Regions from separate parts of the Homo sapiens genome. Here all the other regions are linked to region 1. Evidence: promoter capture Hi-C in human tissues and cell types (Jung and others, 2019). All regions are on one chromosome and are shown on one strand. Each heading gives the region's core, a stretch centred on a gene start or on the middle of the fragment in contact. The rest is flanking DNA. Distances are from core to core; before and after follow the strand shown.

The links. The method cuts DNA at HindIII sites, captures the fragments that hold promoters and counts their contacts. A contact is called where the count stands out against the background at its distance.
Region 2: a fragment that was not itself captured here is called in contact with the fragment with the promoter of DHODH in region 1 in 2 of the 25 tissues and cell types used here (mesenchymal stem cells and spleen).
Region 3: a contact is called between a fragment that was not itself captured here and the fragment with the promoter of DHODH in region 1, in 3 of the 25 tissues and cell types used here (mesenchymal stem cells, ovary and thymus).

What each region holds. Positions count from the first base shown.
Region 1 is chr16:72,006,748-72,011,325 of GRCh38, reverse strand. DHODH (dihydroorotate dehydrogenase (quinone)) reads right to left here and starts at 2,582. Exons shown (of 9, transcript NM_001361.5): 1 at 2,541-2,582. The coding sequence starts at 2,561. RefSeq lists silencers at 2,588-2,787, 2,731-2,830. The HindIII fragment of the contact is 8,550 bases long and covers 1-4,578 here.
Region 2 is chr16:71,953,916-71,958,493 of GRCh38, reverse strand. It overlaps PKD1L3 (polycystin 1 like 3, transient receptor potential channel interacting), which reads left to right. Exons shown (of 30, transcript NM_181536.2): 17 at 4,193-4,389. Among named protein-coding and RNA genes, the nearest start is that of PKD1L3, 44 kb to the left of the region's middle. The HindIII fragment of the contact is 9,768 bases long and covers 1-4,578 here.
Region 3 is chr16:71,971,394-71,975,971 of GRCh38, reverse strand. PKD1L3 (polycystin 1 like 3, transient receptor potential channel interacting) reads left to right here. Exons shown (of 30, transcript NM_181536.2): 12 at 2,455-2,648. Among named protein-coding and RNA genes, the nearest start is that of PKD1L3, 27 kb to the left of the region's middle. The HindIII fragment of the contact is 8,318 bases long and covers 1-4,578 here.

The sequences.
Region 1 (4,578 bases), core at 1,333-3,832:
CTTGTAAATTGAGGGACAACTGTACAGTTTCACATAGAACATTCCCAAGAATTGTTCACCATTTCAGAAAATCTCATCGGGAATGGTACAGTGCTTTCCTGGGGTGCCTGATATGTAACACACCTGTGTACCTGCATTTCTAAGTAGAGACTTAAACACAACTATCTCACTAGGGGAGTCATAGCAATATTTACATACTGAAATACATGTAATTTTATTATTAATATAAACTACTTTTACATTTTCTCCTTTATATTCCAGTTAGGGTATTAATTATGCTGGCTTTTAAAAATTGCACATAGCTGGACTTGGTGGCTCATGCTTGTAATCCCGGCACTTTGGGAGGCTGAAGTGGGAGGACTGCTTGAGCTCAGGCGCTTGAGACCAGCCTGGGGAACATAGTGAGACCCCGTCTCTACAAAATATAAAAAATTAGCCAGGCATGGTGGTGCGCCTGCGGTCTCAGCTACTTGGGAGGCAGAAGTGGGTGGATCCCTTGAGCCCAGGAGGTCCAGGCTGCAGTGAGCCGGGATGACACCACTGCACTCCACCTGGGCGACAGAGTCAGACTCTCTCAAAAATGTATACATACAAAGACATTATACATATATTCCATTTCAAGGTAACGGGGGTGTAAAATATAAAACAGAAGCTTCAGATCTTATTGGATCAAAAGTGGTTCACAATGCTTTTCTCTATCACTGCCACATGCTGAGTTATTCATTCATTAGTTCAGTCATTCATCAAATACTGATTGAGCAAAGATGACAAAACAGATCTTGCCCCTACCCTCATGGAGAGTGTGATCTTATGAAGCGACAGACAGAAATTAATGATCATGCAAATATGTAGTCATAGCAACTGTGATGAAGGATAAAAAGTATAAGGTAATGGAAGTATTCAACCTAATCTTAGAGGTAAGGAAAGGCTTCCTTAAGGAAATGACTTAAAGCTGATACTCAAGGGATAAACGAGTTGATGGGGGTCTCTCTGAACCTATTCTGGTTCAATTATTTAAAAAAATAGTTAACCAGAAGGCAGTACGGAGAGGAAAAAGTGTAAAGGCTCTCTCAGTAGCAGAAGAGAATGAAAAAGGGAGAAAGTTTGGAACAGAGGAGTGAGGGAAAGTAAGGCTTAAGACGAGGCAGGAGAAAGGAGCAGGAGTCTTGGCCAAAATAAAGATTTGGGTTTTGTTCCCTAAGCCAGGAAATGACATGATTAGATTTGCTTTTAAGGATCCTTCCAAACTGCTAAAGACATGTAGATCAAGTATTCATTGGCTGGGCGCGGTAGCCCACGCCTGTAATCCCACCACTTTGGGAGGCTGAGGCGGGAAGATCCCTTGAGGCCAATAGTTCTAGACCAGCCTGGGCAACACAGTGAGATCCCATCTCTCTCCATTTATTTATTTTAAAAAGAGACTCAGGCCGAGCGCGGTGGCTCACGCCAGTAATCCCAGCACTTTGGGAGGCTCACGAGGTGAGGAGTTCGAGACCAGCCTGACCAACATGGTGAAACTGCAGTCTCTACTAAAAATACCAAAATTAGCCAGTCGTGGTGGCGCGCGCCTGTAATCTCAGCTACGCAGGAGGCCGAGGCAGGAAAATCGGTTGAACCCGGGAGGCGGAGGTTGCAGTGAGCCAAGATCGCGCCACTGCACTCCAGCCTGGGCGACAGCCCAAGACTCCGTCTCAAATAAACATATAAAAAGAAAGTCAAGGTTATTCATTGCCTCCCTTGGAGACTGTACTCCCCCCCACCATGTCAATCAACAAATATCTGAACACCTATTTTTTTTTTTTTTTTTTTTTTTTTTGAGACGGAGTCTCGCTCTGTCGCCCAGGCCGGACTGCGGACTGCAGTGGCGCAATCTCGGCTCACTGCAAGCTCCGCTTCCCGGGTTCACGCCATTCTCCTGCCTCAGCCTCCCGAGTAGCTGGGACTACAGGCGCCCGCCACCGCGCCCGGCTAATTTTTTGTATTTTTAGTAGAGACGGGGTTTCACCTTGTTAGCCAGGATGGTCTCGATCTCCTGACCTCATGATCCACCCGCCTCGGCCTCCCAAAGTGCTGGGATTACAGGCGTGAGCCACCGCGCCCGGCCTCTGAACACCTATTACATACGGGGATACAGCTAAGAACTTTTCACAGAGACCCCCGCCCCTAACAAAACTTTACCTAAAAGGGTTGGGAGCATGTCCTACTCTAGTTTCATTCCCCGTTGGATCCGGCACACAACGCTAGGCGGTCATGTGTTCACTAAGCACCCCTGTGCCAGGCTCAAAAACATGGCCCAGGCGCAGACACTCAGATCAGCACCCACCCAGACCTGCAGGCGCTGTCTGCACACGCCTGACCGAGTCCACGTGCAAATGCACACGCACGAGCATTTGCAGGAGACCCCGGAAACACGCACACGTCCCAGGGGGGCCCACACTCCCGGAGCCGCCTTCGGTCCATGCCTCGCCCGGCCTGACTCTCCGTTCTCGCCCTCCCCGGTCCCTGGTCCCCCATCCACACTGCTCACTCGCGGGACTCACTTTCAGGTGTCTCCACGCCATGCTCCTTCCGTCATTAAGCCCGCCCCTGTCTCCCTTCCATTGGAGGAGATGGTGGCGGCCCCTCTTGTCTCCGCCCCTTAGCCGCCAACCCACCAGTCGCCGGGCAGAAGGGTTGAGAGGACGCCTCCGCGCAGCGGGGAAGGCCCGGCACCACCCCCAGGTTCTGGTTGGGTGCACGTGCGCAGTAGCGGCGGCCACGCCTCTTCCGCCCGCCCTCTCCCAGCCTGCCCGCTTGATCGCCGGCTGTTGGCGGAGATGAGATGCCGCTGCACGGTGTTTGTCCGTACTACCGCAGCCTCGAATCCAAGAGTCCGCGAGCATCAAAACACTGTGTTTCACACCAGAAATATTTGTACAGTTTTTATCACTTTAAAAAATAAATTTTACTGCTGTGTTGATATAAAGATGAATATGTTAATATATAAACTTTTTCAACTTAAAAGTTGATTTTTCTTAAGGTTTTTTAAGGAAATTAAAACATTTTCTTGAGGCCGGGCATGGTGGCTCACGCCTGTAGTCCCAGCACTTTGGGAGGCTGAGGCAGGCAGATCACTTGAGGTCAGGAGTTCGAGACCTGGTCAACACCCAAAACCCCGTGTCTACTAAAAAATAAAATAAAATACAAAAATTAGCCGGGCGTAGTGGCAGGCGCCTGTAATCCCAGGTACTCGGGAGGCTGAGGCAGGAGAATCGCTTGAACCCAGAAGGTGGAGGTTGCAGTGAGCCGAGATAGCACCACTGCACTCCAGCCTGGGCGACAAAGCAAGACTCTGTCTCAAAAACAAACAAAGAAAAATAACCAAAAAAAAAAAATTTCTTGAGATCCTAAAAGTGTCAGAGGCCCTTCCCTGGCCCTGCGCCTGTTGTGCCTCCTGGAGAAAGTGGCCCTGGTTATACCTTGGCATTGTGGTGCAACAGATGTGGAGGTATTTTTTTAAATACTGTTTCTAATCAAGACCCTGAGTGTGCAGGCCCGTTGGAGTGTGGTTTACTGCGGTGATTTTTTTTTTTTTTTTTTTTTTTTTTTGACAGAGTCTTGCTCTGTTGCCCAGGCTGCAGTGCAGTGGCGCGATCTCGGCTCACTACAAGCTCCGCCTCCCGGGTTCACGCCATTCTCCTGCGTCAGCCTCCCGAGTAGCTGGGACTACAGGCGCCCGCAACCATGCCCGGCTCATTGTTTTGTATTTTAGAGACGGGGTTTCACCGTGTTAGCCAGGATGGTACTGCGGTGATTTATGACGACCTAATGTGTCACTTTGTAGTCCTCTGAAGCAATCGTGCCCTCACGAAGAATTTTGAAATGTCTTACCTAATGATGTCCTGGCCGTTGGAGAATAGCCTCTGTAGACTTAGGTGTCAACAGCATTAATCAGATACTTATTGTTTGGAGGCTCTACACCCATCCGTGTCATTTTTGTCCAGTTGCAGTGTTCCCGCCATCAGCTGAAATAGCTGGGTTATTGTCGTAGCAGAAATTAGAGCAAAAGAAAGGTGTATGAAATATCTTGAGTCAAGCCATTTTTGAGCTTCATCAGTTGTATGAAGCTATCAAATTAGAACAAATTCACAGACCCAGCTGAGACTTAGAGACAGATTCTACTGCAATAATTTACATGCTAGGTGTTTCAGTCTACATGCAATAGAAATCATTGAAAACATTTATCAAGGTAAAAGTTATGCTTATCAACCTGTCTTCCCTTTACACTTTAATGGAATAAGTTAATTCAGCACACCTTAGTCAACATAAATCATTGCTCATCTGGGACAAAAAACTACTTACATGTTTATCCTCAGTTCTGAGCACTCTCTCACCAATTTTTTGGTCGTTTAAATTAAAACTTTTATTGATAGAGTGCTTGTGTCTTAGATAAAGCATGTATTGAAAGAATATATACAAGGACTTTACCCTTTATGAAAAGGATTGAAATGAAATTACAGCATTGTGTAAGATACCTGACTTGACTTTCAGAGATTTCATCAACATCAGGTTTCATTTAAAAATGCTTGAAACGGTCCC
Region 2 (4,578 bases), core at 1,388-3,887, 53 kb after region 1:
TTCTGTATTTCTTATCATTACTCTGGGCTTTTTTCTCCTTGTTGAAGTAGCTCTTTTAATAGTTCTAATGAGAAGTGTGTGTGTGTCCATCTTTTTTTTTTTTTTTTGAGACGGAGTCTCGCTCTGTCGCCCAGGCTGGAGTGCAGTGGCGGGATCTCGGCTCACTGCAAGCTCCGCCTCCCGGGTTCAAGCCATTCTCCTGCCTCAGCCTCCCAAGTAGCTGGGACTACAGGCGCCCGCCACTACGCCCAGCTAATTTTTTGTATTTTTAGTAGAGACGGGGTTTCACCGTTTTAGCCGGGATGGTCTCGATCTCCTGACCTCGTGATCCGCCCGCCTCGGCCTCCCAAAGTGCTGGGATTACAGGCGTGAGCCACCGCGCCCGGCCGTGTGTGTCCATCTTTACTCTTGACTCATAGTTAGCTATTTAAGTGGATAGAAATTTTTTGTTATTTTTCCCTTAACACTTTGAAGATTTTAATACATTGTCTTCTGCCTGTGGAGCAGTTCCTAAGCAGAAACATTGTGACAGCTATATGGCTGGCTAGCAACACTTCCACTTGGCTTGTAAGAAGACAGCACAGATGAATTTATCTTCTTAATTGACCCTTTAATAAAATGTCTTTGGCTCTAGTAATAATTCTTGTCTTGAAGTATATTTTGTCCTATATGAGTATAGCCACTCCAGCCCTTTTTTGATTGCTGTTTACATGGAATACCTTCTTCCATCTTTTTAGTCCAGTGGCTTGATCTTGGCTCACTGCAACCTCCTGGGTTCAAGCAATTGTCCTGCCTTAGCCTCCCGAGTAGCTAGAAATACAGGCATGTGCCACCATGCCTTGCTAATTTTTGTATTTTTTTAGAGATGGGGTTTCACCATGTTGGCCAGGCTGGTCTCGAACTCCTGACCTCAAATGATCCTCCCACCTTCTCCTCCCAAAGTGCTGGGATTACAGGTGTGAGCTACCACTACTGGCCCATCCTTTTAATTTCAATTCATTTGTGTCTTCATATCTAAATTATGTCTCTTGTAGACAGAATACAGTTGGATTAGGCATTTTTTTGGTCCATTCTGCCAATCTCTATCTTTTAATTTGTGAGTTTAACCTATTTACATTTGATATAATTACTAATAAGGTAAGGTTTATATCTGCCATTTTGCTATTTGTTTTCTATACGTATTGTATCTTTTTTGTTCCTCTGTTTCTTTATCACTGCCTTTTTTTTAATCACCATCACAAATGGGGTTCAACAGTTACCCACACCTACTGGCATAGAATCTCCCAGAGGACATCACTGCCTTCTCTGTGTTAAATGGATATTTTCTAGTCTACCGTATTCTTTTGTCGTATCTTTTACTATATATTTTTAAATTATTTTCTTTATGCCTCCCCTGGGGATTATAATTAAAATTCTAATTTATGAAAACCTAGCTGGATTACTATCAACTTAATTTCAATAGTATACAAAAACTTCACTCCTGTAGCTCAGTTCCTTTCCCACTCTTTTGTGCTATTGTTGTCATACAAATTACATCTTCATGCATTGTGTGTCCATCATATAGATTCTTAATCACTGCTGCATGTAGTTATTTTTTAAGGCAGAAGAGTTGCAATCTATATATTTATTTATGTGTATGTTTACACTGTTTTTACAACTTTTAAAATTACGGTAAAAACACATAACATTTACCATCTTCACCATTTTTAAGTGTGTAGTGCAGTAGTAGTATATATATTGATACTGCTGTGCAACAGAGCTCCAGAGCTTTTTCACTTTGCAAAACTGAAACTCTACACCCATTGAACAACTTCCTGTTCCCTCCCCCTTCCAACCCTTGGCAACTATTCTTTCTATTTCTATAAATTTCATTACTTCACATTCCTCATGTAAGCAGAACCATACAGTATTTGTCTGTCGGTGACTGGCTTATTTCATTTATCACAATGTCCTCAAGGTTCATTCATGCTGTAGCATGTGCAAGAATTTCCTTCCTTTTTGGGCCGGGTGCGGTGGCTCACACCTGTAATCTCAGCACTTTGGGAGGCCGGGTCGGGTGGATCACCAGAGGTCCGGAGTTTGAGATAGCTTGGCCAACATGGTGAAACTCCATCTCTACTAAAAATACAAAAATTAGCCAGGCATGGCTGTGGTTGCCTGTAATCCCAGCTACTTGGGAGGCTGACACAGAAGGATTGCTTGAACTTGGGAGGTGAAGGTTGCAGTGAGCCAAGATCAGGCCATTGCACTCCATCCTAGGTGACAAGAGTGAAACTCCATCTCACAAAAAAAAAAAAAAAAAAAAAAAATTCCTTCCTTTTTAAAGCTAAATGATGGGCCAGGTGCAGTGGCTCACACCTGGAATCCCAGCGCTTTGGGAGGCTGAGACAAGTGGATCACTTGAGCTCAGGAGTTCGAGACCAGCCTGGGCAACATGGTAAAACTCCATCTCTACAAAAAATACAAAATTTAGCCAGGTGTTATATTTAGTCTATTCTCATGCTGCTATGGAGACGTACCTAAGACTGGGTAATTTGTAAAGGAAAGACGTTTAATTGACTCACAGTTAAGCATGGCTTGGGAGGCCTCAGGAGACTTACAATCATGGCAGAAGGGGAAGCAAACACATCCTTCTTCACATGGCAGCAAGGAGAATGAGTGCCCAGTGAAGTGGGGAGCACCTTATAAAACCATCAGGTCTTGTGAGAACTCGCTCACGATCACAAGAACAGGATGGGGGAAACTGACCCCATGATTCAGTTATCTCCACCTGGTTCCTCCCATGACAGAGGAGAGGATTGTGGAAACTACAATTCAAGATGAGATTTGGGTGGGGATACAGCTAAGCCCTATTAGGTGTAGTGGTGTGCACCTGCACACCACTGAGGTGGGAGGATCACTTGAGCCAGGGGGATGGAGGTTGCAATGAGCTGAGATCTCACCACTGCACTCCACTCCAACCTGGGTGACGCAGCAAGACCCTGTCTCAAAAACAAAAAACTAAATGATATTCTGTTATGTGTGTGTGTTTATATACACCCCTTTTTTTGTTTGTTTTTTAGATGGAGTCTCTCTGTAGCCCAGGCTGGAGTGCAGTGGTGCGATCTCAGCTCACTGCAACCTCTGCCTCCTGGGTCCCATTAAATTAATTTCTTTTGGGCTGGATTATTACTTTCCCTCTCCCTCCCACTCCTCTCCCTGCCACTGCACCTCCACACACACACACATACCATCCCTTCCACCCCTTCCACCACAAACACCACCCGTGACTGGTTTTGCTACTGTTTTCATTCCAACCCTTCACATCTCCAGTCTAGAACTGGGCCTTATTATATGGGACCTTGGAGCTCCTATTTTTCAATGAAATTAATGGAACTAGGAGTATTGCAGATCTTGTCATGAGCCTTGGATCTCTTGACTTAGTTCCTGGTCATGAAGCTGTCCTTTTTTTCTCACCTCCTTACTATAAATGTGTAGCCCTACAGAGGTTTTTTTGTTCTCAAGTATCCTTTCATGAGCTCCAGGCTCAACACTGGCTTCTAGCAATGAAGTTGGCTTTGTCCCTCCCTTTTCTGCACCCAGTGAATCATTTTTAGTTTCAGTTACTGTACAAAAGTCAAACTCCCACTTTTGTACTACCTTCCTCCAGGTCTGGAGCTCAGTAATCCTGTGGCTTCTACCTCACTCTGACCACCTTGTTTTCTCATTCTGCTTCTCTTCCTCAGAAAAGGTTTATTTTGTGTTTAAGCCCAGCAAAGTCTTTTTGGTTCTTTCTTTTTATATATTATTTATAGTTCCTCCATATTTGGAGTAGAGAAAGTGCTCAGAGTATGAATTTACCAAACTATTTTGAGCAGAAGTTTAATGTAAACTTTTGAAGAGTAAAAAATTCATCAAAACTCTTATAAAGCTAAAACAACCATTTTTAATTTTAAACTCGCATAGCATATAAATTATCCTCAACAACCTTTTATCCTAAAACAACAAAAGAATCTTACATGGACACATTCGGGTGATGGTAAAAGAATTTAAAATAAAAAAAGAATTAAAATATCTGAAAGCTTATTCACAGAGGTGTTGAATAGAGGCTTGGGAGTTGCTATGTCGCTTGTTGCTGGGCAAATCACATCTTAAACTGGTGCACTTTCAGAATAAAATCTCATGTATTTCCTCTTCTGATTTCTCTTTTCAGACATCTGTTTTCCTCCATGATTGTGGAAAAGTTCACCCAGGATTATCTGTGGCTTTCAATTGCAACTCGGCATCCCTGGAACCAGTTTACAAGGGTCCAACGGCTGTCTTGCTGCATGACACTGCTACTCTGCAACATGGTCATCAATGTTATGTTCTGGAAGATAAACAGCACCACTGCCAAGAGAGATGAGCAAAGTATGGATGAGCCCTGATGTGTGTTGTTTGTAGTAAGCAATCCTTTTTTTTTTTTGAGACAGGGTCTTGCTCTGTTACCCAGGCTGGTCTAGAACTCCTGGCCTCAAGTGATCCTCCTGCCTCAGCCTCCTGAAGTGCTAGGATTACAGGCACGAGTCACCATGCCCAGCCTACTATGCAATACTTTAA
Region 3 (4,578 bases), core at 1,232-3,731, 35 kb after region 1:
AAAAAAAAAAAAAAGAACAGAAACAGCTTGTATACCTCTCATCCAGTTTCTCTGAATGGTAGTATCTTGCATAACTAGAGTATATCACAACCAGAAAATAACATTAATACAATCACTGATTTTATTCCGATTTCACCAGGTTTACAAGCACATTTCTGTATGTGTGTGTATTGAGTCCTGTGTGATTTTACCACATGTGTAGACACGTGACCATAAAATCATTTTTTTTTAAAGATGGATTATAGGATGGATAAGGATATGTATGTAAGGAAGCAGACTTAGTAGGATGTTAATTGTAGAATCTAGTTAATGGTTATATGGTTATTCCCTGTAAAATTCTTTGTATGGTTGAAGATTTTCATAATAACATGTTGAGACCCACAGCAGAAGTAAGGCTCACAGCACCATGAGTTAAATATACTTCACATTTATATATTGTAGATGACTATATATGAAATATGTCCTATGTATTTCAACTTTATTTCTAATCTTAGATTTGAGGAAGAAAGGCCTGATGATATCTCAGTATGCCTTGGTATAAAATCAGAATGAATGTATTGTAGTTTAGAAAAGTTAAGAATTTCTGAGACATAACATTACAGTTAAAAATGTCTGGCCTGGTGTAGTGGCTCACCCCTGTAACGCCAGCACTTTGAGAGGCCAAGGCAGGAGGATCACTTAAGCCCAGGAATTTGAGACTAGCCTGGGCAACAGAGCGAGACTCTGTCTCCACAAAAAAAAAAAAAAAATTAGCCGAGCGTGGTGGCGTGCACCTGTAGTCCTAACTACTTGGGAGGCTGAGGCAAGAGGATTGCTTGAGCCAAGGAGTTCAAAGCCACAATGAGTTTCGATGATACCACTGCACTCCAGCCTGGGTGACAGAGCAAGACACTGTCTCTAAAAAATAAAAATTCCTGATATATATAAATAGTGCCCAGATATACTTGATCAAAACCATGCTCTGTGGGTATCAACTTTAAATATAGTACTGAAAAGTCTTAATAAGAGCTACACTTCTGTATTTATTTTTACGTTGGGAAAAATCTGAATGGAGAAAGCATGCTACAGTCTCCCGTCATGACCACCTTCCATACTGGAAAGAACTTTCTCTGGCTCTCGCATGGGCACCACTCACACAGGAACAATCACTTCTAAGTTCTTGCTTTTAGGCAAAGTCCCCGAGGCAGCAATGCTCACTACCAGGCTGCCCACTACAGAATCTGTGGAAATTACCAACGGGCCCTTTCCCAATTCCAAAGGTGTACTCAGTTTTGTTTCTGTTTCTGTTTTGAGACAGGCTCACTGTGTCGCCCAGGGTGGAGCGCAGTGGTGCGATCTCCACTCACTGTAGCCTCCGCCTCCTGGGCTCAAGCGATTCTCATGCCTCAGCCTCCCAAGCAGCTGGGACTGCAGGCGCATATGCCACCATGCCTGGCTAATTTTTTGTGTTTTTAGTAGAGACAGGGTTTTGCCATGTTCGCCAAGCTAGGTCTCAAACTCCTGGGCTCAAATAATCCTCCTGCCTTAACCTCCCAAAGTGCTTGGATTATAGGCCTGAGCCACTGCGCCTGGCCATGGACTCAGTTTTTCTTGGTGATCTTGGCAATGATATGTCATTCAGAGCCGGAAGGGGCCTTCAGGAACCTTTTTTTGAGAGACAGGACTATTTGAAAGATGAGAAAGCTGAGGCCCAGAGAGACTGGATGACTCACCTTAGCCCCTACCAGCCAGCTGGTGACAGAGCCAGGCCCGACCTCCGGTCCCTAGCGTGCAGTCCTGGGCTTTGTTCCTGAAGCTGCCCTATCTCTATGTTTGCTTCACCCTGGGGTTTGTTACCTTAGTCTTCTATCTGCTAACTTAGATATGTGCTCATTTCATTTTTCTAAACCTCGTAATACATTCTAAATCATTAGACCTAAATGTTCACATGTTCACATACCAGAAGAATATATATATTTTTTTTTTTTTTTGAGACAAAATCTCACTCTGTTGCCCAGGCTAGAGTATAGTGGTGCGATTTCGGCTCACTGCAACTTCCACCTCCCAAGTTCAAGCAATTTTCCTGCCTCAGCCTCCTGAGTAGCTGGGATTACAGGCTCACATCACCACACCCCACTAATTTTTGTATTTTTAGTAGAGATGGGGTTTCACCATGTTCACCAGGCTGGTCTCGAACTCCTGACCTCAAGTGATCCGCCCGCATCAGCTTCCCAAAGTGCTGAGATTATAGGCGTGAGTCACCACACCTGGCCAAAAGACTGTAGTTCTTTACTGGAACAGTAGTAATCCAGAGCCCAGGGTTGTATCACTGGTCATTTTCTTTCAAATCATTTGTGACTCTAGTTTCATCATGGTCTCATTTGTAAAATATTAATAATAGATCCTTTAGAAGAGAGGTTCATTGGTGTTTTTGTTCCATTTGATATACAAGTAAGCACTCTTCTTTGTTCTAAGATGAGGAGTACACGTGGGTGCTGAATCCAGAGCATCTGCAGCACGGGATTGGCACCTACTATATAACAGCTGTGCTGAGTGAGAGGCAGGAGGGTGCTCAGCAGACACCCAGCTTGGTCTCGGTCATCACCGCCGTCACTCAGTGTTACTACTGGGAGATCCACAACCAGACATGGAGCAGCGCCGGATGCCAAGTAAGAAACTGAGCCGCTTCTTGGGCCTCTCTTCTGCCATAGCTACTGTTAAGCCCAATGCATCCGTTATCTCATTTGGGGCAGCCCAGAAAGAAAAATAATCAGGTGGTTTGAAATAACTCTGCCTGGGCAAAAGGAGGGAGGAGGGTTGTGTGTGGTGGGCAGGGCAAGTGTGCCTCTTCGAAGCAGGAGCAGCTTTGTGCTTTATCTTTGTGATTTCTTTCTCAAACACAGTCCAGGGTGGATCTGACAAGTGTGGATAAAATAGCGTGTGGAAGCCATAAAATTCTACAAGTATTAAATATGTTGTGGGTGGGTAAAATGAAACCTCTTGCTAAACGAAGGAGAACTTTCATAGCTCAAGAAATACATTCTCAGATTCTTTTACGTTCCAGGCCAGGTGAGGACAGGTTGTCACTTTTGTAATTATCACCTTGTTCCTGGTGTCCAACTGCTTTAAACCAGCACTATTATATTTGCACACTCGTGATTCTGTGAGATCCTGCCTGATGAAAGTCCTGGTTTGGTTGCTCAAAGAATGTGGTGTAAGGTCTTGCAAATCAGCAAGCTGTTCTAAAAAGAGCTGAGAAAGTGCCATCTAGATTGGAAAGAGAAGGAAAGATAATTTTCTTTTTTTTTTGAGGTGGGATCTCATTCTGTCCCTCAGGCTGGAGTGCAGTGGCATGATCACGGCTTACTGCAGCCTCAACCTCCTGGGCTCAAAAGATCCGCCTGCCTCAAACTTTCAAGTAATGAGGACCACAGGCATGTGCCACCATGCCTGGCTAATGTTTTAGATTTTTGAACAGACAGGGTCTCGCCATGGTGCCTATGCTGGTCTTGAACTTCTGAGCTCAAGCAATCCTCCCTCCTGCACTTTGGGAGGCCAGAAGGAGGAGGAGGAGGATGATGATGATTACTTATAGAGGGAGTTTCCCTCTTGTTGCCCAGGCTGGAGTGCAATGGCATGATCTCGGCTCACCGCAACCTCTGCCCCGCTGGGCTCAAGCGATTCTCCTGCCTCGGCCTCCCCAGTAGCTGGGATTACAGGCATGCACCACCACACCCAGCTAATTATTGTTTTTTTTTGTTTTTTTGTGTGTTTTTTTGAGACCAGTCTTGCTCTATCGGCCAGGCTGGGGTGCAGTGGCGCGATCTTGGCTCACTGCAAACTCTGCCTCCCAGGTTCATGCCATTCTCCTGCCTCAGCCTCCCAAGTAGCTAGGACTACAGGCACCCACCACTGCGCCCGGCTAATTTTGTGTATGTTTATTAGAGACAGGGTTTCACCGTGTTAGCCAGGATGGTCTCGATCTCCTGTCCTCGTGATCCGCCTGCCTCGGCCTCCCAAAGTGCTGGGATTACAGGTGTGAGCCACCGTGCCCGGCCTAATTACTGTATTTTTAGTAGAGATGGGGTTTCTCCATGTTGGTCAGGCTGGTCTCAAACTCCCGACCTCAGGTGATCTGCCCGCCTTGGCCTCTCAAAGTGCTGGAATTACAGGCATGACAGAGAGAGGATTCTTAGGAAGGCATCTGCACCATTCATAGCCTCAGGCAGTCATAGCTGGACAATGGCTATCAAGCAAATCTATAATCAGTTTGTTAAAATGTAGATTCTGAAGCAGTAGCTCTGGTCAGGCCTTTCTAACAAGCTTCCAGCTGATCCCAGTGCTGCTTGTTAGGGAAACCATACTTTGAGTAGAGAAGCTTGAGAGCTTTTCTCCTCTCACAGCACAGACCAGTTGATTGCAGAAGGCATCGGATATTTCCCACCTCCTTGAAGCACGCTGAAGTGCTTGGACTCCATGAAAGGAATTGAGCTGCCCCAAATACAGCGCAAGAGTTCTTCCAAAGGCAGACTAGATTGGGCCTCCAGGACTTAATTCTGTGCCATGGAAAGAAGTAGTCATAATGACAGTACTGGAGGC